Linked DNA regions of Homo sapiens: all the other regions are linked to region 3. Evidence: promoter capture Hi-C in 16 types of primary human blood cells and fetal thymus (Javierre and others, 2016). All regions are on one chromosome and are shown on one strand. Each heading gives the region's core, a stretch centred on a gene start or on the middle of the fragment in contact. The rest is flanking DNA. Distances are from core to core; before and after follow the strand shown.

What was found. Contacts are between HindIII fragments. The CHiCAGO score rates a contact against its expected background, and 5 or more counts as called.
Region 1: a fragment that was not itself captured here is called in contact with the fragment with the promoter of INPP4B in region 3 in 3 of 17 cell types (fetal thymus, M2 macrophages and megakaryocytes); the score reaches 5.5 in fetal thymus.
Region 2: a fragment that was not itself captured here is called in contact with the fragment with the promoter of INPP4B in region 3 in 13 of 17 cell types (fetal thymus, M2 macrophages, megakaryocytes and 10 more); the score reaches 25.0 in fetal thymus.
Region 4: a contact is called between a fragment that was not itself captured here and the fragment with the promoter of INPP4B in region 3, in 2 of 17 cell types (non-activated CD4 T cells and megakaryocytes). The highest score is 5.7, in non-activated CD4 T cells.

The regions. Positions count from the first base shown.
Region 1 is chr4:142,371,515-142,377,780 of GRCh38, reverse strand. The region is part of intron 7 of INPP4B (inositol polyphosphate-4-phosphatase type II B); the gene reads left to right. Among named protein-coding and RNA genes, the nearest start is that of INPP4B, 470 kb to the left of the region's middle. The HindIII fragment of the contact is 414 bases long and covers 3,389-3,802 here.
Region 2 is chr4:142,353,210-142,359,204 of GRCh38, reverse strand. All of the region lies in intron 7 of INPP4B (inositol polyphosphate-4-phosphatase type II B), which reads left to right. Among named protein-coding and RNA genes, the nearest start is that of INPP4B, 490 kb to the left of the region's middle. The HindIII fragment of the contact is 620 bases long and covers 2,768-3,387 here.
Region 3 is chr4:142,843,367-142,849,299 of GRCh38, reverse strand. INPP4B (inositol polyphosphate-4-phosphatase type II B) reads left to right here and starts at 2,999. Exons shown (of 26, transcript NM_001101669.3): 1 at 2,999-3,091. The region is part of intron 3 of USP38-DT (USP38 divergent transcript); the gene reads left to right. RefSeq lists an enhancer at 1,656-2,242. The HindIII fragment of the contact is 4,051 bases long and covers 1,287-5,337 here.
Region 4 is chr4:142,440,937-142,446,305 of GRCh38, reverse strand. All of the region lies in intron 3 of INPP4B (inositol polyphosphate-4-phosphatase type II B), which reads left to right. Among named protein-coding and RNA genes, the nearest start is that of INPP4B, 400 kb to the left of the region's middle. The HindIII fragment of the contact is 2,656 bases long and covers 2,578-5,233 here.

The DNA of each region.
Region 1 (6,266 bases), core at 2,346-4,845, 470 kb after region 3:
TTTATTTTAGTATTTAATTACTCTAATACTCTGCATTCTGATAGTCCAACATTCATTTCTTGAGTATTTTTTTGAAAAGAGAGAAACTGAAAAACATGATTACTGCATATGAATGCTCATATTTTCCATCATAATAATGTCATTTTGATACCTGATTCTCATTTCTGCCTACATTACAGATGGCAATATGCCTATGGTTGTGTCTTCTTGAGCCACACATAAGAAAGAATAAGGAGAGAAAAACCCCTCTTCTTCCAGATTCACTTTCGAAATCATACTTATTTGAGCAGCATGTTACCTTGTCCCTCTTTTTCACTCTTCTGACTCTGAGTCGTCATCCAGTTTGATATTTGAGACATCATTCAAACTGCTCCAAATGAAAGGCTTTTGTAGGATTCTTTGACCTTGGACATGGCAGAAGGTAAAAGCAGCAGATAAGGATTTTTTTTTTTTTAACTTTCCTCACAATCCTACTTTGCTTCCTTCTAAGACATTTGTCAGAAAAAAAAGATCAGCAAAATGTTTCTTCACTAGCCTGAAATTTACGAATTTCAGGAAAAATTCGTGAAATGGACCAATGTTTAACCAGGTTAGATTGTTTGGAGCCACCTAAAATTTGTTTTAAAAATTTTTTTTTTCCTGTGAGAAAAAAATAACCAGTTAGACTCTTGGAAACATTAAAGATGAAATCGAATTAAGGCTTAAGTGCCATTACTTAAACATCAAATAGGAGTATAAGTGGTGTTAATGCATGAAAAATTAAAGGAAATGGTAATGTAACATTATGGCTATACATAGCACTTGCAGCAGTGTTAACTCGATTTGTGACATTACATAAAATAGAGAACAAATAAATGATTTAAAACTTCATTAATTACAAATAATTTGTACAGAGAGCACCACATTTGATCCTCAATAGGGACCTTGTCGTATTACCATGTGGATTAGGCAACTGGAAACTGAATTTGAGTAATTTGCTCAAAATCAGATTGAAATGTGGGCCAGATTCAGAGTTTTCCACCATGAATCCACTGAACTATAGGAAGTTTCTCAGGAACAGTATTAAGGTACATAACTCCATTAATAATTTGAGTTGGGTGATGATTTCCACTTAGCTCATTGCTGATGATAACCATACTTGGAGATGTGGCTAAGAGCGGCCTTTTAAAGTTGAATTTCTTAAGGAGGGAAAGGGACTCACTTTTTGAAGTGTCCACAGGTGTCTAGAGTAACTGTGTTAGATAACGCATCAAGCTCAGAGAGTCAGTGGATCTGAAAACACATGCCAAAATGCTCTGATGACCTTTCAATTGTTCCATTTTGATAATGCTACCTTACATTGCTGTGTAATAGCTGTCATCATTACAAGAAGTCAGTATCATTTGGTGCCTGTTTTAGGTTAGCTGGGTTATATATGTGACTTCAGTGTAGAAGAACTGACATCTGAGAGGAACAAAGCCATGTTTTCAGGTCATCATGAGATCTTATCCCAGGATGCTGATAATATCAAGATGAAAATAGTCAGGTGGGAAGAAGAACTATATATCTTCATGCTATTTCCACTAATTGAAAGTTCCTAGAAATTATATTTGCTACACTAGGTTTCAGTTGTGTCACAATTTACTAATTTACTTAAATATTTCAATACTTATTCCATATAAAATGCTACCATGTATTAAGAAACTATAAAGAAATGACATATGCACAGGCCTCTTTATATCAATTTGATTTTCATTATAATAAATTTGACCTGCAGATGGATATCCATGTAGAAATATCAAAGCAATAATTTGGAAATAAGTGAATGGAATGAAGATACAGTGACAAGATTTTTATTGTCTAGAGACGTCTGTCTAATAGTAGCTTAAATAATTAGGCTTTATTTTTTCCCTCACGCAGCAAAAAGTCCAGGTGTGGGCACTTGCTGTTATTGGGTCAGATTCCTAATGATATTATCAAAGGCCCAGGATTTTTCTCTTTCCACTTTACCATGCTAATCATCTTGACCTTTAGTTCACATGCTTGTCTCTCACTGCATAGTTGCAAGATAAATGCAAAAGTTCTAAGGCCTTATGTTTGCTTTATAAGCCAGGAAGCAAAGGGGAAAGGAGTAGTACCTCTGATTTTGTCCCTTTTATTCAAGAAAGTACACCTCTCTTAGACTTTTTTCTCTAATTTCATTTGCCAAAATTGTGTCCCATGGCTACCAATAGTAGCAAGGAAAGCTGATAAAGCAAGTATCTCTACTTCCAAACTCCTTAGAGTGGGATGTGCAAAAAAGCTGGTTGGAAATGACTTTTTTATTAAGCAAACAGCCACAGGGTTTGGAATAAAGATTTGGGAGGCATCCTTACAGAAGTGATCTTTGAAAATGACTCGAGAAATAAACATTGAAGGAGAAAATGATCAAAGAACCTTGAGAAATACTGACACTGACATATGGAGAATGAAAAGATCAGCTTTCAGTTACAAGATTAAGAGTAGTAAGAAAAAAAGGGTGGGGGAGGGAAGCAAGTAGTGCAGTGTCCTGAAAAACAAATTATGGAAGAATTTTAAGACAAAGAGGAAGGTTGGTCAGTGTTGACTAGCTCCACAGAGCTGTCAAGGAAGATGAAAAAAAAATGGATTTATTGATTGGGAGGTTGCTGGCCTTTCAGAAAATAGGTGCTGAAAAGAGATTAGAATCTGAGAGATTAAGGAGTGAGTGATTAGACCGTATAAGATGGGTAGCAAAAAGAAGGAAGAGAAAAGGAGTGTGAATGAACACACAGAAAGGTTGTATTAGTTTAGGGTGTTTAAGTGAGGGTTCCAGAACGGAGAGCTGGAGATCTCTTGGTAATTGTTCCTACCTTTACTAGAAGTCACTGCTTTTATTTTTTAAGTTTAGATTATAAAATTTCTTCTACAGTATTATATACATTACAGTTCCTTCCTTGGATCAATTTACCAAATGAGAAATAATAAAATGCCTCTCTTAGACCTACCTCATTGAATAAAAAACGGAATTGATAATTATTTTTCATGACATATTTGGAGATTCTGGTTGGGAGTAAATTGTGTTATATGAAGATCACCAGTAATGTGACTTCCTTAAGAAGCATGAAGAAATTAGTGTTGTCTAGTCATTTCTTAACATTAATAACAATATCAATAAAAAGATGATTTTGATGAGCTTGACAAAACTGAAGGATCCAAAGTAAATGTAATTTAAAAACTCATGTAGAATAATGAAAGAATATATCCGAAGTTACATTCAATAGTGGCATATATGCTGTTTCCCATACCATCTCAAAAATTTGCAATATGGAAAGCTCTCTCCCACTTCTCCCCTTCTAAAAAATCTTCTCTATTCTACATCTTCCAAAATGTTTACCTATCTGGGTAAGCTTTGCTGAGAAATCTAGATGACTGAAAGAAAAGTTATAAGAAAAAAATTATAGCATACAAAATGCATCTTTGCTTAGAACAATGGCCTCTATGTGGTTAAGAATGTGAACTGTGGCTCACCTGAATCAGGGTTTATATCCAGACTTCAACACAATTAATTCTGTAATCATGGGCCAGTTACTTAAGCACTGAGAGCCTTACTTTACTTATCAATAAAATGGGGAATAATAAGCGTGTGTATTACGTAGGGTGGTTGTAAGGACAAAATGAGATAATTGTTGTCCCATTTTATCTACAAACGTGTTCAAACACACCCTAAACTAAAACAATCTTTCTGCATGTTCATTCACACTCCTTTTCTCTTCCTTTTTTTTGCCACCTGTTTTATATGGTCTAATTACTGACTCCTTAAGCTTCTGGTAGAGTGCCTGTCATACCGTGGCTGCTCAATGCACGACAGTTTATATTGCTGCTGTTCTTAATATTATTACATGATTTTTATTTATATTCCAGTACTATAATTAACTTTGGAAAAGTTGCTTTTTGTTTGTTTGCTTTAACAATAACCACAGGAAAGCTCTCAACTGGGAATATAGCCAAAGATAATATTTCCTAAATGACTCTTTATTTATATTAAAATGTTCTATATTTATATTTTAAATATGTACTTGTCTTCATCCTTACCACAGGAACAAACTCTTAGTAACACTGCTCTGTATCAGACACATTTCTCTAGGCCTTACATATTTGCTCATTTAATCTTCACAAGAGTACTAAGACATAGATACTATTAGTGTCATTCCCATTTTCTAGATGAGGAAATTGAGGCACAGAGAGGTGAAGCAGCTTTCCCAAAGTCACAAATCTATGAAGTAGAACTGGATTTGAACCAGGCCATTTAGCTTCGGAGTCTGTGCTCTTCTTAATCATCATACTCTAAGATGACTAGAAATGACATAGTAAATATTATTTATTGTTCAGATACCTATTATATTTTGCAAGGAGTGTTTTTAATTATATATTTTAAGTCTCAAAGGGAGCAATTCCAACAATTTCACGAAAACACACTTTTCTCTCAATACTTGAGATTTATAATCTTAGGTTGTCAGAACCTTAAAAGGTCAAATGTTGTTACTCTATTCATCTCAAACACTTTCTGCTTTATGAAAGGGCACCAATCTATTCAATAAAGATGCAAAAATAGAATTTATGACACATACAGGACTTGGCTCTTCAATCAGAGCTCTTTCCACTATGCTGCATAATATGGAGTTGGATTTTCAAAATAGTCATTGTTAGAGCCTGCAGCTATTTGAGACTGATTTCTATTCTGGCATAGAATATAAATGATTCAGTTTAAAACCATCTGTATTTCAAGTCCAGAAGAGAAGTGCACTACATGCCCCTGTGTGTGTATGTATGTATGTATTGTGTAGGCAGTTATAGAAGGTAGGTCATTGGTTCAAGGCCTAGATTGAAGTAAAATGTGCTTAATCATATGAATTCCTATTTGTGAGACTAGGAAGGCAGCAGGAGTCAGTGTAGTCAAGATGCTTTAGTTTGACTTCCAGTACTAGAAGACTGAGCTAATTACTCCTTCCTAGAGAGGAGACACTTCAGCTGATGATGGAAATGGAAAGGATGCCGTCAATCTTACTTTTTGCACTTGAGAATGTGTGAAACTGCTCTGTCAGAGGCACACATTTCTACCAGCTGTCAGAAGTCGTACTGGAAATGAAATAAGACCTTGGGAAGAGAGATGTGCCCATCATTGAAATGCTTCCCAACCCTCTCTGTCTTTTCCATTGTAGAACCCAATGCATATGATATTTTCTGCTTTTATTTTTACCTTCCTCTATGCATATAATGATTGTACTTATTTATGGGGTACATGTGATATTTTGATACAGGCATAGAATGTGTAATGATCAAATCAAGGTATTTACAATATTCATCACCTCAAACATTCATCATTTCTTTGTGTGGGGAGCATTTCAAATCTCTCCTAGCTACTTTGAAATAAACAGTAAATGATTGTTAACTATTGTGCTGTTGAACACTATAACTAATTCCTTCTATGTAACTGCATGTGTGTATCTATAAACCATCTCCCCTTCCCAGACTCTGGTAACCATTATTCTACTCTCTACCTCCATGAGATCTATATTTTATCACCCATATAGGAGTGAGAACACATGATATTTGTCTTTCTTGCCTGGCTTATTTCATTTAACGTAATGACCTCCAGTTCCATCCATGTTTCAGCAAATGAAAGGATTTTATTATTGTTAATAGATGAATAGTATTTTATTGTGTATATACACCACATTTTCTTTATCCATTCATCCACTAATGAACACTTACATTGGTTTCATTATTTTGGCTGTGAATAGTGCTGTGATAAACACGTGGATGCAGGTATCCCTTTGATATACTGATTTTCTTTCGTTTTGATAAATACTAACAGTAGTGGACTGCTGGTATGGTACTTCTATTTTTAGTTTTTTTTTTTTTGAGAGACTTCCATGCCGTTTTCCATAATGGCTGTACTAATTTATATTCCCACCATAGTGTATAAGAGCTCCCTTTCCTCACATATTTGCCAGCATTTGTTATTTTTTGTATTTTTGATCATATCCATTCTCACTGGGGTGAGATGATATCTCATTGTGGTTTTGATTTGCATTTCTCTAATAATTAGGGATGTTGAGCATTTTTTCATATACCTGTTTCAATTTGTCTTCTTTTGAGAAATGTCTACTCAGATCCTTTGCCCACTTTTTAATAAAATTCTTTTCTGTTTTTTGTTTGTTTTGCTATTGAGTTGTTTGAGCTCCTTATATATTCTGGATATTAGTCCCTTGTCAGATAAACAGTTT
Region 2 (5,995 bases), core at 1,828-4,327, 490 kb after region 3:
CAGTGTTCTTTACAGTCTTTTAAAGAAAGGGAAGAAAGAATTCTGTGGCTAGACTCTCAAAGGTTATTTCCTGTCACAATGGACAATATGATATGTACCAGCAAACAGCTACTTTCTATACAGCTCCTCCACAGGCTGGGATCATTTCCTGATGATTTCTGAACTAATTTTTCCAATAGCAGCCAGACCCAGTATTGCAGTACCTAGGTCAGAATAGCCCTCTAAAACACGGAAAGTATCCGAAACAGCAAGATGACTTGCCACATTGATTGCTCCAACAAATAAGGACTTTCAAGTGGCTCTAAAGTAGCCCTCTCACCACTGCTCAGTTGAGACACAGCAATGTTGCATCTAGGCATATACCTGAGGCATTGTTAAGCATACAGCTTCCCAAGCCAGCTGCTGAAGGGTTTAAAGTGTGGGCATGTGCATTTGTAACAAGTATTCTAGGTGATTGTTATCGTGGGAGGAATTTGAGAGATACTGCTCGACATGGCTCTCAACCTTGGCTGCATGCTGGAATCACCTGGGAGTTTTTTTTTTTTTTTTTTTTTATAAATCACTGATGTCTTGATCCTACTGTCAGATATTCTAATTTAATCATTCCGGGGTATAGCCTAGGCGTAGCAGTTTTTTAAAAGCTCCTGGGAAGATTCTAATATGCAGCTAAATTTTATAATCTCTGTTCTAGAGTAGAGCTGTTCATCCAGTGTTCCTGGAACATTGCTATGTTAGAAATTAAGAAGTTTGCAATCTATTGAGATTTGAATCTTCTCAGCCCTTGGGGTGCTGGGTGTGCTTGCTGAGGCAGACATGGCTGGTCCTCTTTCACAGTCTATTAGTAAACTTTTCTCTTTACCCCAGTGCACCCTATAAATATTATTTTCTAGGTCTACCATGATGTAAAAACAAAATGGAATGCATACCTCTAGAATAAAGCCTATGTATTTTTAAAAAATTCCTCAGATAACTGTGATGTTTAGGCAGTATTGCCACCAGTCTCCCAGAATTTCCTTGCAATATTTTTTTCATATTAGTATAAAATTTCAAGAAAACTAAAGGTTCATTAAAATGTAATATGTAGATAAATTGTATGTTCACACTGTTAAAGCAGTTGATATGAACAAAATCTCTACATACATTGTAAGAAACATATCAAATATCCCTCTACCTACTATTAATTGTAACATTTTACCATATTCACATTAGTTTTACTTTTAAAGGAAGATGTAAAGAAACATATCAAGTCTTTTGTGTGTCCTTTCTTGATCCTATTTTTCTTACTTCAATTCAAAAAATATCAACTGTCCTCAATTTAATTTGCATTATTCTATGAATATTTTACATCTTTCACAAACATGTATATCCACAATAATGCAAATATGTTATTTTCTGTGGTTGTCTCTGTATTTGAAAATAATTACAACTAGTTAAGAGGTCAAGGATTTACTATAGACAAAATAATAAGATTTACTAGAGGCAAAAGCACAAAATCATAAAATGCTAATGCCAGAAAAGACTGTGAAAATCATCTATTTAATACCCATCTTATTCAGTACTCATGTTGATGAATATGAGGACTTTCCTAGATAAAGATGAGGCCTCTCCCCATAATCTATAGGTTTCACTATTTCTGAGGTTTGTCTGAGGAGAAAAGGGAGGTTTGAGTGTCTGCCCTCCAATTTATCCCTACGAAAGTGGTAGAATTGCCATGTAAATATATGGGAAAAAGGTATTTTTTGTCACCATATTCACACTCACACTCAACACTTCTGTGACCAGATGTGTGGGTTTTCCACATCAAACAATTCTCCCAATCCCTGTGGACATCAACTGTGTGTTCAGCAATTTAATTCTAAGACTAACCAGTGCCGTTAGCAAAGACCCCACAGGTTAAGGGCTCAGTACCACAAGACTGCCCCTCACTTCAGATGCTAATCACAAGTAGTGGGTCCCTAGATTATTCACAATTTCTGTCTGACTTGGCTACAAATCAGAGATTCCCGCCATCCCCTTCTAGTGTTGGATAATTTCCTAAAGTGGTTCACAGAGCTCAGAAAAGCAATTCTACTTACTATTGCTAATTTATCACAAAGGATATTTTAAAGGATACAGCTGAACAGCCCAGATGAAGAGGTAAATAGGGCAAGGTCTGGCAAGATCCTGTGTGCAAGAGCTTTTGTATGTGTAAAGTTGGGGTGTGCCCCCTCTTGGCACATAGTTGTATTCACCAGCCTGGAAGCACTCTGAACTCAGTAGTTTAGGGTTCTTTATTGAGGCTTCATCAAGTAGGCATAATCAATTTTTAACTCAATGTGTAATCCCTCACCCCTTCCTGCAGGATGAGGGCTGGGGCTAAAAGCTCCAAACTTGTAACCATGCCTTGGTCTTCCTGGTGACCAGCCGCCATCCAGCATCCCACCAAGAGTCACCTCATTAGAATAAAAGACCCTCTGATCACCCAAAAAGTTCCAAGGAATTAGAAGCTCTATGTCAGGAACTGAGGCCAAAGACCAAATAAAAGGACAAAAGATGCACCTAACACTTCTATCACTCAGGAAATTACAAAGGTTTTAGGGTTCTGTGCCAGGAACTAAGAGCAGAAACCAAATATGTTATTTGTACTACTTCACAACTGAAACCTTACTAACTCAAGAGCAACCTTTTATCCTCCCAGCTCCTCATCACTCCTGCAGGTCCTGGTCTTTGCTCTCCTGCTAACCAGGATCCCCAACCCTTGAGTTCTGGATGGAAAGCTATCCAAGCTTTCCTCACATTTCCTTCTCATATCATTTCAAACATTTATATAAGATTTAGATTTCTCCCTTACTTGACCCCTGTCTCTGAGAAAAGTAGGCCACACATCTCTGTACATTCTCATTCTTACACAGTTGAATTACCCTTTCTTATTTTCAAATCAACACTCACTGCTCTCCTCTCTCCCTTTTATCTAGAATGCCTTTCTCCCCTGGCAAAAGTTTTACCCCATCTTTAAAGGTATTCTGCCAATATCACCTCCTTTGTACATTTTCTAGATTAACTAATATAATCTTTCTCTTTTGAACTTGTATTGTAATTTGTACCTTCTGTCCAGCACTTTATCATTTTATACATTGTAAACCAATTGTGTCATCCTATTTTTTGCCCTTATCAATATGAAAGATTTGGGGAGGATAAAACTACATAGTTCTAATTTTTTGTAGCCCCAGTAGTATCTATTGGAGTATGTGGCATTTTAAAAATAGGTAATCTTATTGAATTCTGTTCATTTCTCTTGAGGTTAAGAAAAGACTCAGTAGTTGAAGAAGTGATCAAAGCTATCCTTATGTTAAAAAAAAAAAAGGCTTCTCTCCATGAAATATATTGGCCTATCTGAGGATCAAAGCTTTGACTTCGTTCATCTCATGCTCTGATAAGCTGAATTGCTTCACAAAGTTTGCATGATTAACACTGCCTGCCTTAAGTGCTTTAGTCTTGCCAGAAACTGGTAAATTTTGAATATCCTTTGTGTTGTTATATAAAGATTCTCTGTGCAAAAGTAATTGCTTTCCTCAGCTAAGAAGGTCATGACTTTTCATAGTAGATAAGAATATGTGCTTAATAAATAAGCTGACCAAGTCTATTTTAGTTTCTATGAAACATGCCTGTGCCTACTTTTTTCTTCATTGTTGATTGTGGGTTTAGTGAGTGCCAGTTATGATGTAGAAATTGTATAAAAGCATAGCATTGGCATGGGTTTGATTTGTCAGAAGTCAAAATACTGAAATATCTGAATAAATAAATTAATGACCTGTAACATCACTTCTATCCTTAAATACATATTCTGGTGGGGGGAAAAAAAAGAGCAAATCTGCATCTCATTCAACTTCCTGATTTCTCTCTGTTGTCCGGATGTGTTAGATTAAATACGACCACAGATTCTTTGCAGCTCCTCCTATAAAGAGGTGGAGTCTATTTTCCCACTCTTTGAAACTGATCTGTCCTTGTGACTTGCTTTGATAGAATGCAACAGAAGTGATATAATGTGGCTTCTGAACTTCTATTTTAAGACGCTTTGCAGTTTTTACTTTTGCCTTCTTGGAATACTTCCAGAATCATATAAAAAGTCCAGGTGAAAGTTTGCACAGAGAGAGAGCTTCGCAGTTTTCAGGGCCATGCCAGTCATCCTACTGAGGCCCTAGGCATGTGAATGAAGCCATCTTAGAGTCCCAAGCCCCACTCGAGCCACGAGCCACAAGCTATCTGAACCCCATGAGTGAGCCCAGATGAGACAAACATAATTGCCTAGTCAACTCACAGAACTGTGAGAAGTGATAAATCACCATCAAGCCATTAAGTCCTCGCTTTGTTATACAGAAATAGATAACTAGCCGTATGTTAGTTAGGTATATTTAGCTTGTCTCCCTAATCTCTGGAATATGCGAAGGCAGAATTTTCCATTCACCTTTCCCCATTATGGCAAAGCACATAATAACATCTAAAATAAGCTCAAAATAAAGGTCATTCCAATGAAAGATTGGACCTTGCTAAGTTTCAGTTTTCTAACTAGTGAAGTAAAGCTATTGGATTAAATACAATTTAGGATTCTCTTTGTTCTACCTCCCATAACACCAGCTCATTTTGTTAGATGAATTCTCTGGAAGAATTGGAACTAATGATTCTATTTTATTTTTTGTCTTCCATCTGAATTGTTCTGGCCGGTTTATTCCTTAAATGCCCAAGATAGATAAAAGGTACCGAATGGAAATAGACAAGAACTCCAGGTCTGTGGGGGACACAAGAATCTTCCACTCTGCTTTTCCTGTGAAAATTCTGTTCTTCCTACATATAAATGAGCCGTACTCATCCAAACCTGTGTTTGAATTGCACATAGTTATGGGATAAAGATCTGCTGGCACATTCAGGAAGATGATCTGTGCTTCTACTGAATTTTTAGGTGTAAGAGTCAGCATACACATTTGCTGAGCCCATGTCCCAAGGCTCTGAGAAGGTTCGTGGCACAAGATACCCAATATGCTAGATAAAAGGCAGATTGTGACTTTGCTATTTAGATTTGTCTGCTTAGGTGGTTTCGGCTATTGCATTTGAGATCTTTGCAGCTGACTGGTTGTATGCATTTGACTTGAATTTTTATGTGCTTGCTAGATGTTTTAGGTTTTGCTCTGTGACCTTGAACGGCATTATGTCAATTAAATCACACAGTGGGGAAATGACTTAGACCACCAAGAGTTATTGAACAAAATTTCATTTAGCATTGGGAAAAAATTGTTGAAGATAAAAACTCATAGAATTTTGGAATCAAAAACATTTTAGAAACCATTTAGTGAGGAGAGTGGGACTCACAGAACAGGGTGATCTGCCCAAAGTCACTAAGCTAGGTAATGGCATTCTGTGCAACTTTAAAATAAACAAACTCTATACTATTTGCAAATGCTATTAGAAATTAGAGAAAGATCTTGGGTGCTGTGATATTATGGGCAGTGCACCAAAAAGCCAAATATTCCTTTGTACAATATTTATCTTCAAGGACATGGACATAAGTGGCTAAGCAAAGGCAGCAATCAGATAATCCTAGATGCAGTTGTATATGCATCTGTATGTATATATGTATATGCACGTATATATACAGAGAGAGAAAGAAAAAGTAGTTTGCCAGGGCAGAGATTTAGTCTGATTGCCACCTATGGAAGGCATGGAGAGTCTGAGAAGAGAAGTTATTGCTTATGCTGACCTTTTAAAAACTTCTGAAAGCTTCAGTCCCACAAAACATGGTCCAATCAATGTCCTGGAATCTGACCAGTTGGATCATTCTCTCTTAGGGGAATGGAATTTTTTCCTCTTTTCTTGACTTAGCATTTAGAAAATCTAAGGGGAAGAGCCTAGCGCTCCCCCTAGAGGCTAATATTTATGCTTGCAACTTAGAAAGCATTGCAATATAAGGTTCTGTTTTCAAAGTCTTGAAACTTTCCTGAGGAATATATTATCACGCTCTCTA
Region 3 (5,933 bases), core at 1,750-4,249:
ACACACAGACATACACACACAATATACACACAAGAGATGATGCTAATGTATACATAACAAAGTTTCTGTAATTTTTAAGTTTTTAAAAATTGAGATGAAAACAAGGACTTACTTTACAAGTTATTGTTAACATAACTGAGTAAGCATTAAAAAACCTATATGATGCTTGGTGCTATATTCTAGAAGAGATTTTGAATAGTGAAGGATCATAAAAGTAGATATGATGTCATATTAATCTCACCTGAGATAAAAATCTAGAGGAACAATGAATCTATGGAGAGAGTGTAGGCTGCTTCACTGCAAAGGCGAGTGTGACACCAACCCTGTAGATCCTGGCTTGATTTTATTGCTTTAGACAGCAAGGTAACTACAGGGAATCACCTTTGACTTCTGGCCCTACAAAGATATTTCAAAAGGAAATGAAAAATATTTTGTCCTTCATTGGCAAATGGAGTTATGTTTTGGGGGTACAAGTCAGCAAAAGTTCAAGGTTTGTAAAAGTGAATGCTGAATGAGTTTATTAAACCACGGAAGCATCTGAATCCTCCAGGCTTATTCAAGGAAAAAGCCACCAAATAACTAAAAAAGGTAAATATCAGGATGATTGATGGATTTTTAAAAATGCCTTGTGGTACATGCATCTGATGGCATCCTGATTCATATTCTCTCTTTTCTGAGAATTCAAACTTCCTACGTGATGTACACAAGTAAGTCACATATTCTTCAGCCGCCCTGTAAAAGGACTTTGTCAGCATGGTCCATGTCTGGACTTTAATTATAATAGGGTCCTCTAAGCATCTCACTTTAAACGTCCATTTCCATAGAATCAGTAACTGCATTTATTTTACAACTCAGTCTTTTAGGAGGTATGGTTTGGTATTTCTGGCATTGCTGCTGTAGTCTTCATAAACACACACACGCACAGACACACACACACACACACTCTTCCACTTAGAGGACAGATATGTTAACCATATTTCCAATTTAGTAGCAAAGCTCTGACATCCTAATGTCCTGATATTATTTCAATCTCTCTCTATTGTGAGAAAAATCAGAAACTGCCCAGTGAGAAAGTTGTATCATCTTTCCAGCAGATCTCTATGAACACGGCTTACCCATTGCTTGGAGATGGGTGTGTTCAGTGCTGCCCCATGGAGGAGAAATCTAACTGTGTGAAGGCTTCTCAAAGCTGATCCACATCTTGACAGGGATTATTTGTTCCTCACTCTCCTATCTCTCTGCATTCAGCTCACTTGGGGTAGAGGCTGAGCATAGGAGAAAAAGCTTGAAGAGAAGCAAAAGGAAGGGCTTCGGGGGCGCCAAGCAGTTTCTGGCCTATAGTGTTTATTATTTGATTCTATAAACATTTATTGAAACTACAGAATATTAGGTATTGTCCCAAGCTCTGGGAGCAGAGTGATGAAAAAAATAAATGAAACGAACAAACAACTCCCCCCACCAAACAAAACAAAACAAAACAAAACAAAACAAACCCAAAGTCCCTGTCCTCATTGGCAAGGCTTATAATGTGGTGGTCAAAGGTTTGAGGAGTGAAAGGATGCCTAGATGCGGGCAGTGACAGCAGGGGTGACAGCTGGGGGTACATACAGCTTCCTGGTTTGTGAAACTGTTAAGCCCCGACTTAACCCAAATTGATTTCACTGTCCTGACTTTGAGATTCCAGTCTTTTTGCATGGCAAATGTAACACTTGTGTACAAGCATTCGTACACTGCTTTACTTAAAATGTGATTTTAAAGCGCCCTCAGGGAGAAGGGCTGGGGTGTCTTGATGGGCTGGCTCTGGGCACCTTTACCTTTGAACGGCTCCATCAAAACCTTTCCGAGAGAGCCGCCAGGTGGCACCTGTAAAGCGCAGATGGGGAGAGTCATTTGCCCCACACCCTACACAGCCCGGAATAACCAGGGTGCGTGCTTTCCCCTGTGGGCTTGTTAGGGGCTAGGAAGTGGGGGAGTTTTAGTCTCCGTCCAGACTGCTTGCTTACATACCCCGTTTTCCTGATACCCCAACACATTCAGGGCGGATTTGTCCCCACGCACCCGGGATATCAAAGGCATGTCATACGCTAGTTGGGAGCATCTCGGCCTCAGTCACCCGCCGCGACGTGGGAACTGGCGGTGGGTGGCCGAGGGCTGCTCTAAGCTGGTCTCCTCAGCCCGACCTCTGCCCGGGGCAAGGGGGAGGAGGGGCAAGAGACAGGGGTCCCAGCGCGGCTGCAGACTGGGGTCCAGCAGGCGTGAATGGATGCCTAGACGCAGGCAGTGACAGCAGGGATCCCAAGCCCCTTCCAAAAACCCTCGGTCTAGGGACTGCGCTGCCATAGGCCGGGGTCTGGGGCGCTTTCTTCCTCCCGCGGGTTCTTTCTCTGTGGTTTCTCCTGCCCCCGCAGCAGCGTGGCGGCCTCGGGTCCCCCCTCGTCGCGGTAGCGGTGATCCCACAGCCCAGTCTGGGTGGGCGACCCAGCGGGCAGAGGGGCCGCAGAAAGGGGTCGGGGTACGGGGTGTGAGCACACGGAGCCAGCGTGGTAATTTCGGGGTGGGCAGCCGGGCCACCATCTCCGCTCTATCAGTAGCGGGAAGCGAGCAGCGCCAGTTGCGCGACTGTCGCTGCCACGGCCGCCTCTACTCGGTCGCTGGTGACATTGGGAGGAGACCGCTTGGAGAGAGCAGAGGAGGAGGAAGAGGAGCGGGGAGGGTGGGGGTTGGGGTGGAAGAAAGTAGCAATTGTGCCAGGGGGCGTGTGAGCAGCCGGAGAGCCAGCCGCGCTGGTGACAACTTCTCTGGGGCGCGCGCGGGGCTGGTAGGCGAGGAGCGAGCAGGGAGCGCGGCCGAAGCCAGAGGCTGGGGGAGCTGCTGGAGCCTCGCGAAGCCGCGGCCGGCGCCCTGCGCCGTCGCCGCCGCCTGCTAGTTTCCTCCGGGTTCTCAGCCCCGGGTACTGAGGCTTCGGTCTATAAATAGCAGGTTACAGCTCCTCCTGGGCGCGCACACGCTCACACGCTCGCAAGCGAACGCAGGAAAGTCAGGCTAAAAGTGTCTGCTGCTGCTGCCGCCCCCCACTCCGCCTCCGGGAGAGGTAATTACCCGCCTGGGATCCTAGGGCTCGGTGGGGGAATTTTGCAGGGTGGGGTGGTTGATGGTGGGTAATCCGGGAGGCGAGGGAGCGTGTCTGAGAGCGTGGCGGCACGTCTTGGAGGGGGGAGCCTGTCTGTTTTGCATCAAGTTTCTCCGTCTTGCAGCCTCCATCACCCCTCCAGCTCTTTAGCTTAAAGGGTGGGGTGGGCTGTCTCTCCTCGGCTGCTGGGGTACCCCTGTCACCGCGCCTACCCTCTCGCCGAGCGCCCCTCTGCCCGGCGCGCGCGCGTTTTCGCATTCTCACTCACACACGCACACTCTCCGGGCCCCCGTGGAACTCTGAGCTCTGGCCTCGCTGACCTTCCAAGGCTGCGCCCACCTGCGCTGTCCCTGAGAGACGCTGAGGTTGGCCCGGGCACTCGCTCTCACTTCCAATCCTGATGATCGCAAGCTGCCGCCGCCGCCGCCGCCGCCGCCGCCGGCCTGGGAAGAAGTCCTTAAGGAATAGAGGCAGTGGTGGGGAGTGAGGGTGACTGATGTTGGTGGTCCCGGTTGCCTTGTTTTTTGTTTTAAAAATAAAGAGCCCATCTCCTTGACCACCTTCATCCCACCCTCAACAACTCATTCTGGCAGAGAAGCCTGGCATGTCTTCTCTCGGCCATCAGGCAGCATCTCTTGTCCTTCCCCAAAGAGGTCTCGCTGAGAGGTTAGGGCCTTGGCGCAAGAGTGCCTGGGTTTGGACGGGGGAGGTCATTGTTTCGGGTCTGAGAACTATGCTGCAGGCTCCTCAAGCTCTCTGGCGCTCAGGCAGGGCCCAGGGCCGGGGAATGTCTGGGAGCCTGGTTCCTGAATGTAGTTTCAGGCTGGTAGCTGATATGAAGATGAGGATGCTAGAACCACATATACCTGTTTTTCCCCCTCCCCACGCTTCTGAATTCTCCCTTCCTTGGGGGCAGTAGTTTCTGCTCCTGGGGAGTCGGTGGAGAGGGGCCCAGCAGTTTCTCTTTGGGGACAAGAGGGTGAGGAAGCACATATTGATTAGGTTGTTGCTGCTGCTGCACAAAACTTACTGGAAAAACCCGGTAGGGTTTTCTATTACTCTTGTTTTAAGGATGTAAATTTACTCCTTTTCCTCTTTTATCTTCTCCCTAACCAGAACTAGTTTTCCTTTCTCTTTCTGGAATGTTATTTGAGGTCATTATATTTTATGACTCCAGATGTTACATTTTGCATATCTCCTTCCTGTCAGTATGACAGACAGAACTTGTTTATAAAGGTGTGGCTCTGTAAGTAAAAGCCTAAAGACAGAGGATAAATTCATCTTCTCTCTCTCAAGATGAGCTCCAGATAGTTCTTTTATAGGTGTACAACTACATTTCAAAGACCTTGCTTGAAAAAGGACTTTTCTTAATGAGTTCTGGACCAGAAATGGTAGTAATCTGACTCAATGATAAAGCAGCGCATAAGGTGCAAGGAATCATCAACAGGGCAGCTGGCTGATGATGTGTAAGAAGTTGAGTAAAGCAAGGACTGGGCAAGTGGGCATTGTCAGTTCACATACTATGCACAGAAATGCATCCTCTCCTTTACGCATTGATGCACATACATGCATTATGTGTTCCTTTGTGATATAATCCTGTAAAGCATTGATAGGAAATGATCAATAGTTTTGTGAAAGGTACATGGGCATTGAAGGTTGAACCTCGTGAATTTGTAGTAATGTAAAATGCTATTGCAAAATGGATTGCTTTTTCAGTGTATTTCCTTAAAATGTGATGTAGAAGATTGTCCTTGAAAGGTTATGAAATGTGTGTGTGAAGATAGGCTAAATGCTCAGTGACATTAAGAAACATGTTTGCAGATTGAAATACTGCTCTTATTCTAGGAGAGTATTCTCTTTGATTAAGCAAATCAATATTTATTTGTGATAAAATAATGATCACTATGATGTGCATATTTATAACTCAAATTTGCTTTTGACTCTTTATAAAGTGTAAGAACAACCAGATAGACCATTTAGTCTTGTCCCTCTATTTAAAGTAGCATGCAGTCAAAGGTATAGGCAGAAAATACTTTTAAAATGTTGTGTTTGAGCTTCAGTTTGGGGCTGCAAATTGAATGACTTCATGTCTCATAAGATTTTTGTCAAAATACTAAATCGCTCTACTATCATAGACCATCAGTTAAACTTGATTATAAAATAATGCTATTATATTTTAGTTGTGTGAAATGGAAAATCATTAAGCTTAGGGAAAAGCCAGATATTTGTTCTAAATTGTGCAAATTGAAAGTAATTAATTCCTTTCTGAAACCTTGGAGCATCTTCTAGTATAAGTACTATAAATCCCCAGATGGGTAACAAAGTTAACTTTCACTACCTTGAGGGAGAACCCAAGATGACAATTCTCTGAAAGACAGAAAAAAAACCTGCTAACTGATCTTAAAACTCATAGCAACCAAATGAGTGGCAGTTTCTAGGTAAGTATTTGACATCTGAGAACAAAAAGTTAAGAAATTATGGAATCATAATTAGTGAGTAAAATGCTTACTGAATATCTATTACATTTTCTTATTTCATACTGAGTGATGCCCAGTAGTACTAATATTAGATATACAAATATCATACCTAATCTGTACAAAATAAATTTTTGTCTTTCACAACTATGGGGATTTTAATAGATAGAAATGCCCTGTTTTAAATAATCTCAAGTTAAATGTTCAGGTGAAAGCTGTGTGAGTCTCTTCTGTATTATGTACCTTAGTTTTTCAACATGTCCTGTATATCTTTCTAAAGCCTTAAGGAATCTTTTCCATAGGCCACTTTGTTAATACTTTTAAAAAAT
Region 4 (5,369 bases), core at 2,656-5,155, 400 kb after region 3:
ATCATTTAATATGTTTCTGGGTAATTTGTGTTTAATATATTTGAATTACTTGTTTTTATATATTGATAGTTTTTTTCCCATTGTTTTTACTTTATATTGATTTGCTCACATGATTAATATATTCTGGAAAATAAATCTTCATCAGCTATGTTTATGACACATTTTTTTTATCCTGCTTGTTTTAGATTTAATTTGCCCTTTTTCTAGTTATGAAGTAAAAGCTTAGATAATTGATTTGAGACCTTCTTTTCTGACATAAACATTTAATACAACAAATTTTCCTCCAAGCATATTTTGATATATAGTTTAGTGATTTTATTTTGGTTCAAATAAATATAAATGTTCTTTGTGACTTTCTTTTTGCTTTATCAATTACTTGAAAGTATATTGTTTAATTTTCAAATATTTTGAAATATTCTAGATATGTTTGTTAGTTATTTCTAGTTCAATCTCCTTGTGGTCAGAAAATGCACTTGTTATGATTTCATTTATTTTAAATTTGTTAAGGTTTCTTTTATGAGTCAGCATAGAAGCTGTCTTAGTGAATATTCCATAAGCACTTTGAAAAAATATGTACTCTATTGTTAGGCAGAGCATTTTATAAGTGTCAGTTAGGTCAAGTTGTTGGTAGTGTTGTCTAAGTATTTTATATCCTCACTGATTTTCTGTTTACTCTGACAATTAGAGGAATGTTTGTGTCCTCAAGTATTGTGGATTTGTCTATTTCACTTCTGTCAGTTTTTGCTTCATCTGTTATGAAATTTTTAGGTACATTCACATTTAAGATCGTAATGTCTTCTTGATGAATTAACCATTTTATAATTATATAATGTGCATGTTAGTATTCCTTAATGTGAAATCTATTTTGTCTGACATTGATGTGGCCACACCAGTTTTCTTGACGTTTTGTTCTTGTATTTGTTGTTTTTCAGTATTTTTGCAAATTCAGTCATTATCTGTTCAAATAATTATTCTTTTCTATTTTTTCTTCTAAGATTCAAATAACATATGTACTAGACTGCTTGAATTGTCACAGTCTACTGTGGATCTCTTTTATGCTTTTTTGCTTATCGTGCTTTTTCACTCTTTGTGTTTAAGTCTGGATAATTTTTTTTTCTTTTTTTATTATAATTTAAGTTCTGGGATATATGTGCAGAACGTGTAGGTTTGTTACATAGGTATACATGTGCCATGGTGGTTTGCTGCACCCATCAAGCAGTCATCCAGGTTTTAAGCCCCATATGCATTAGCTATTTGTCCTAATGCTCTCCCTCCCCTTGGCCTCCACACCCTGACAGGCCCTGGTGTGTGATGTTCCCCTCTCTGTGTCTGTTTGTTCTCATTGTTCAACTCCCACTTATGAGTGAGAACATGTGGTGTTTGGTTTTTCGTGGCTGTGTGTTTGCTGAGAATGATGGTTTCCAGCTTCGTCCATATCCCTGCAAAGGAAATAAACTCATTCTTTTTTTTCTTTTTGTGGCTGCATACTCTTCCATGGTGTTTATGTGCCACATTTTCTTTATCCAGTTTATCATTGATGGGCATTTGGGTTGGATCCAAGTCTTTGCTATTGTGAATAGTGCTGCAGTAAACATACATGTGCATGTGTCTTTATAGTAGAATAATTTATAATCCTTTGGGTATATACCCAGTAATGGAATTGCTGGGTCAAATGGTATTTCTGGTTCTAGATCCTTGAGGAATCGCCACACTGTCTTCTACAGTGGTTGAACTAATTTACACTCCCACCAACAGTGTGGTGGGAGTGTAAATTTTTCTTCATCCTCTCCAGCATCTGTTGTTTCCTGACTTTTTAATGATCAACATTCTAGCTGGTGTGAGATGATATCTCATTGTGGTTTTGATTTGAATTTCTCTAATGACCAGTAAAGATGAGGTTTTTTTCATGTTGGTTGGCCACATAAATGTCTTATTTTGAGAAGTCTCTGTTCATATCCTACGCCCACACTTTTTGATGGGGTTGTTTGTTGGCAACCTACAGAATGGGAGAAAATTTTTGCAATCTATCCATTTGACAAAGGTCTACTGTCAAAAATCTACAAGGAACTTAAATGTATAAGTCTGGATAATTTCTATTAGACTATCTTCAAGTTCACTGATTATTTCCTTGCCTGTGTCAAACCTACTGGTTAGCCTGTCAAAGGCATTCTGCATCTCTGTTATTATGTTTTATTTACATTTCTAGTATTTTGGTTTTATTCTTTCTTATAGCTTCTATCTCTGCTAAAATTCCCCATCTGGTCATGCAACTTCTCCACTTTTTCCACTAGAGTTTTTAGCATATTCCCTTTCTGTTAGTTCTAATACCTGGGTAATATCTGAGTCTGGGTCTCTTGGTATATATGTACATATTATTTTTTTGCTTTTGCTTTTGACACTTTTTCATCCTTCTCCTCTTCTGCCCCACTTTTCCTTCTCTTCCTCTTCTTTCTCCCTCTCCTTTATCTTCTTCTCTTCTTCCTCCCCTCTTTATTCTACTTTAATATTAAATTGTGCTTAGAGTGCGGTTTAGATGCCTGGAGACTGCTCTCCACTCTCCACTCTCTACTTTAAGCTTTCTTGGAAGTTTCTACCTGAGAGAGGTTCATTATTTGTGCTTGCATGCCCCCTCTGGTGGGAGGTAGCCTTCTGTCACCTGTTTCTTGGTGTCTCAGCCTGGTGGCGGGGGCAGAGGCATTCTCTATCGTCATCTTTCATGCTTGGTTGTAGACAGGCCCGATGTTCTTGGGTCTTGGGGTGGGACTTTCTCAGTGATCCGATCACTCTATAGTAATAAAGGATCAGAGGATCTCTAGTGGTGTCATCCCAGGAAGATTTACTGCTCCTCCCTTTCTAATTTCAATGAGTCTTCACCTAAGGTCAGCAGGGTCTGTCATTTTTGTTCTGTAGGAAAGAGGATCCAAGTGGGTCTTTGTACTTTTCCTGCAATTACTGCTGTTCCCCTTCAGCAGGCATGTACCTCAAAGGGACACTTTCTCCAGGCACCCACTCTGCTTCCAATCATTCTCATGGGCATTTGGGTGAGGTCCATAAAGAAGACCCTTTAGTCAGTGCAGAATACTCTTGAGTAAAGGCTCTCAGGAGTGTTATATTCTCATGCTAGCCCACAGATGACATTATATATTTTGGCTGAATTCTTATTACCAGGTTTTTTGAGGTCTGATATGGTTTGGTTGTATCCCTACCCAAATCTTACCTTGAATTGTAATAATCCCTATGTGTCAAGGGCAGAGCCAGGTGGAGATAATTGAATCATGGGGTCAGTTTCCCCCATACTGTTCCCATGGTAGTGAATAAGTCTCACGAGATCTGATGGTTTTATAAATGGGAGTTCCCCTGCACAAGCTCTCCCTTGCCTGCTGCCATGTAAGATGTGCCTTTGTTTCTTCTTTGCCTTCCACCATGATTGTGAAGCCTCCCCAGCTGTATGGAACTTTGAGTCCATTAAACCTCTTTTCTTTATAAATTACCCAGTCTCAGGTATGTCTTTATTATCAGTGTGAGAACAGACTAATACAGTGCCTGACATATCTTCCTACCATGCTCTGCTCCATGGAGACATGTAAATTTCCTTAGGTATCCAACTAGTTGGTTGCCCTGAGACCTCATCTGTTTTACTAGTTAAGGAAAACTTATGATTTCATGCATCATTTAAGTTTTCCTTGAAGTTAGGGTGGGAGTCATTCTTTTATATCTTTGTACATCCTAAATGGAAACTGGTACCTTCTATGTGACAAATATATTTTCCTAGTCCGTGGTTTGTTTCCTCACTTTTTATGACATCTTTTGCCCACAGAACATTTAATTTTAAAGTAGTCAGATTTATTCATCTTTTTATTTTTTTCTTCTCTCTCTTTTTTTTTTTTTTTTTTTGAGATGGAGTCTTGCTCTGTTGCCCAGGCTGGAGTGCAGTGGCATGATCTTGGCTCACTGCAACCTCCGCCTCCCGGGTTCAAGCAATTCTCCTGCCTCAGCCACCCATATAGCTGGGATTACAGGCACATGCCACCACGTCCAGCTAATTTCTGTATTTTTTGGTGGAGATGGCATTTCACCATGTTGGCCAGGCTGGTCTCGAACTCCTGACCTCATGATCCACCCACCTCAGCCTCCCAAAGTGCTGGGATTACAGGTAGGCGTGAGCCACCGTGCCTGGCCCATGTTTTTCTTATGGTCTATGCTTTTGAAGTTGGGTTGAAAAATCTTTTTCTACATTGAGTTCATAAATATGCTTTTTTATTTAAGAAAAAAAATAAAGCCATTGGTAAGAGCATCATCAATTTCAGATCATGCATCATTTTCTACTCACCTTCCTTTCTTTAATTATAGTGGATTGTACCACCTGGATTTTGCCTTGCTTGTATCTCCTTAATGTTCAATTCTATTTCTCTCTCTCTCTCTTTTCTGGCCATGTTACTTCAGCATTTAAATGTGCTTATGTATCCCAATTATTAAAAAAAAAAAAAAAGCTATTTCTTAACTCAGTGGCCTTATCTGCTTGAGAAATATCAGCTAAGTAGAGTGATGACACTGTTCCCTCTGTTCTTCCTACCTGCTGCTCCTCCCATCACTGACCATGCCTTTTCCAACTAACTTCTTTTCTTGTCCCCTTAAATATTTTTGCACCTTAAGATTAATTCCTCAGCCCTCTCTTCTTCTCACTATATGCATTTTTTTAGTGACTTCATGAATTATTTGGTTTTAACCATTAGCCAAATACACTTAACCAAAGATACTTCTCTAGACTTAATATTTCTCCAGAAAATTTAGACCCATGTGTGTTTCTAAGGCACCTCAGAACAACATGAGTAAAACTAAATTAACTATCCTTGACTAAAATTCCTTTTATTCTCTCCTGATAGGTTAGTGGCTTGTAATTTACTAGGTAGCATGATCTTTCTCTTTTGCATGAATTCACCTCTGATATCACATCTAATTCTATCACCAACATCAGGTAATTCTATTTAATAACTTAGAATCTAGATTCTGTTCTCTAATCATATACTTCTATCTTGGCTTAACCCTCATTATTATTTTATTTTCCTTGAATATTAACCTCTAAATAGGTTGCTTTTCTTATCAAGCTACCACCTTTCAGTACAGTCTTTACTTTTTGACACTGTAGTGGATTTTCTAAAATTCACGTATGATCATGTCACTCTCTTGCTTAAGTATATCTAATGTGGCTTCTTTCTGCTCTCATAATTAAGCTTATTCTCTCTAGCCTGGCCTTCAAGCTTTTTCTCTGATCTCCGCTTGTCTTGCTAGTTTTTCTCTGGAAGCAATTCTCATCTCAGATAAGGAATAACCACCACCATACACACAAAAATCTAATGGACAACATGAGG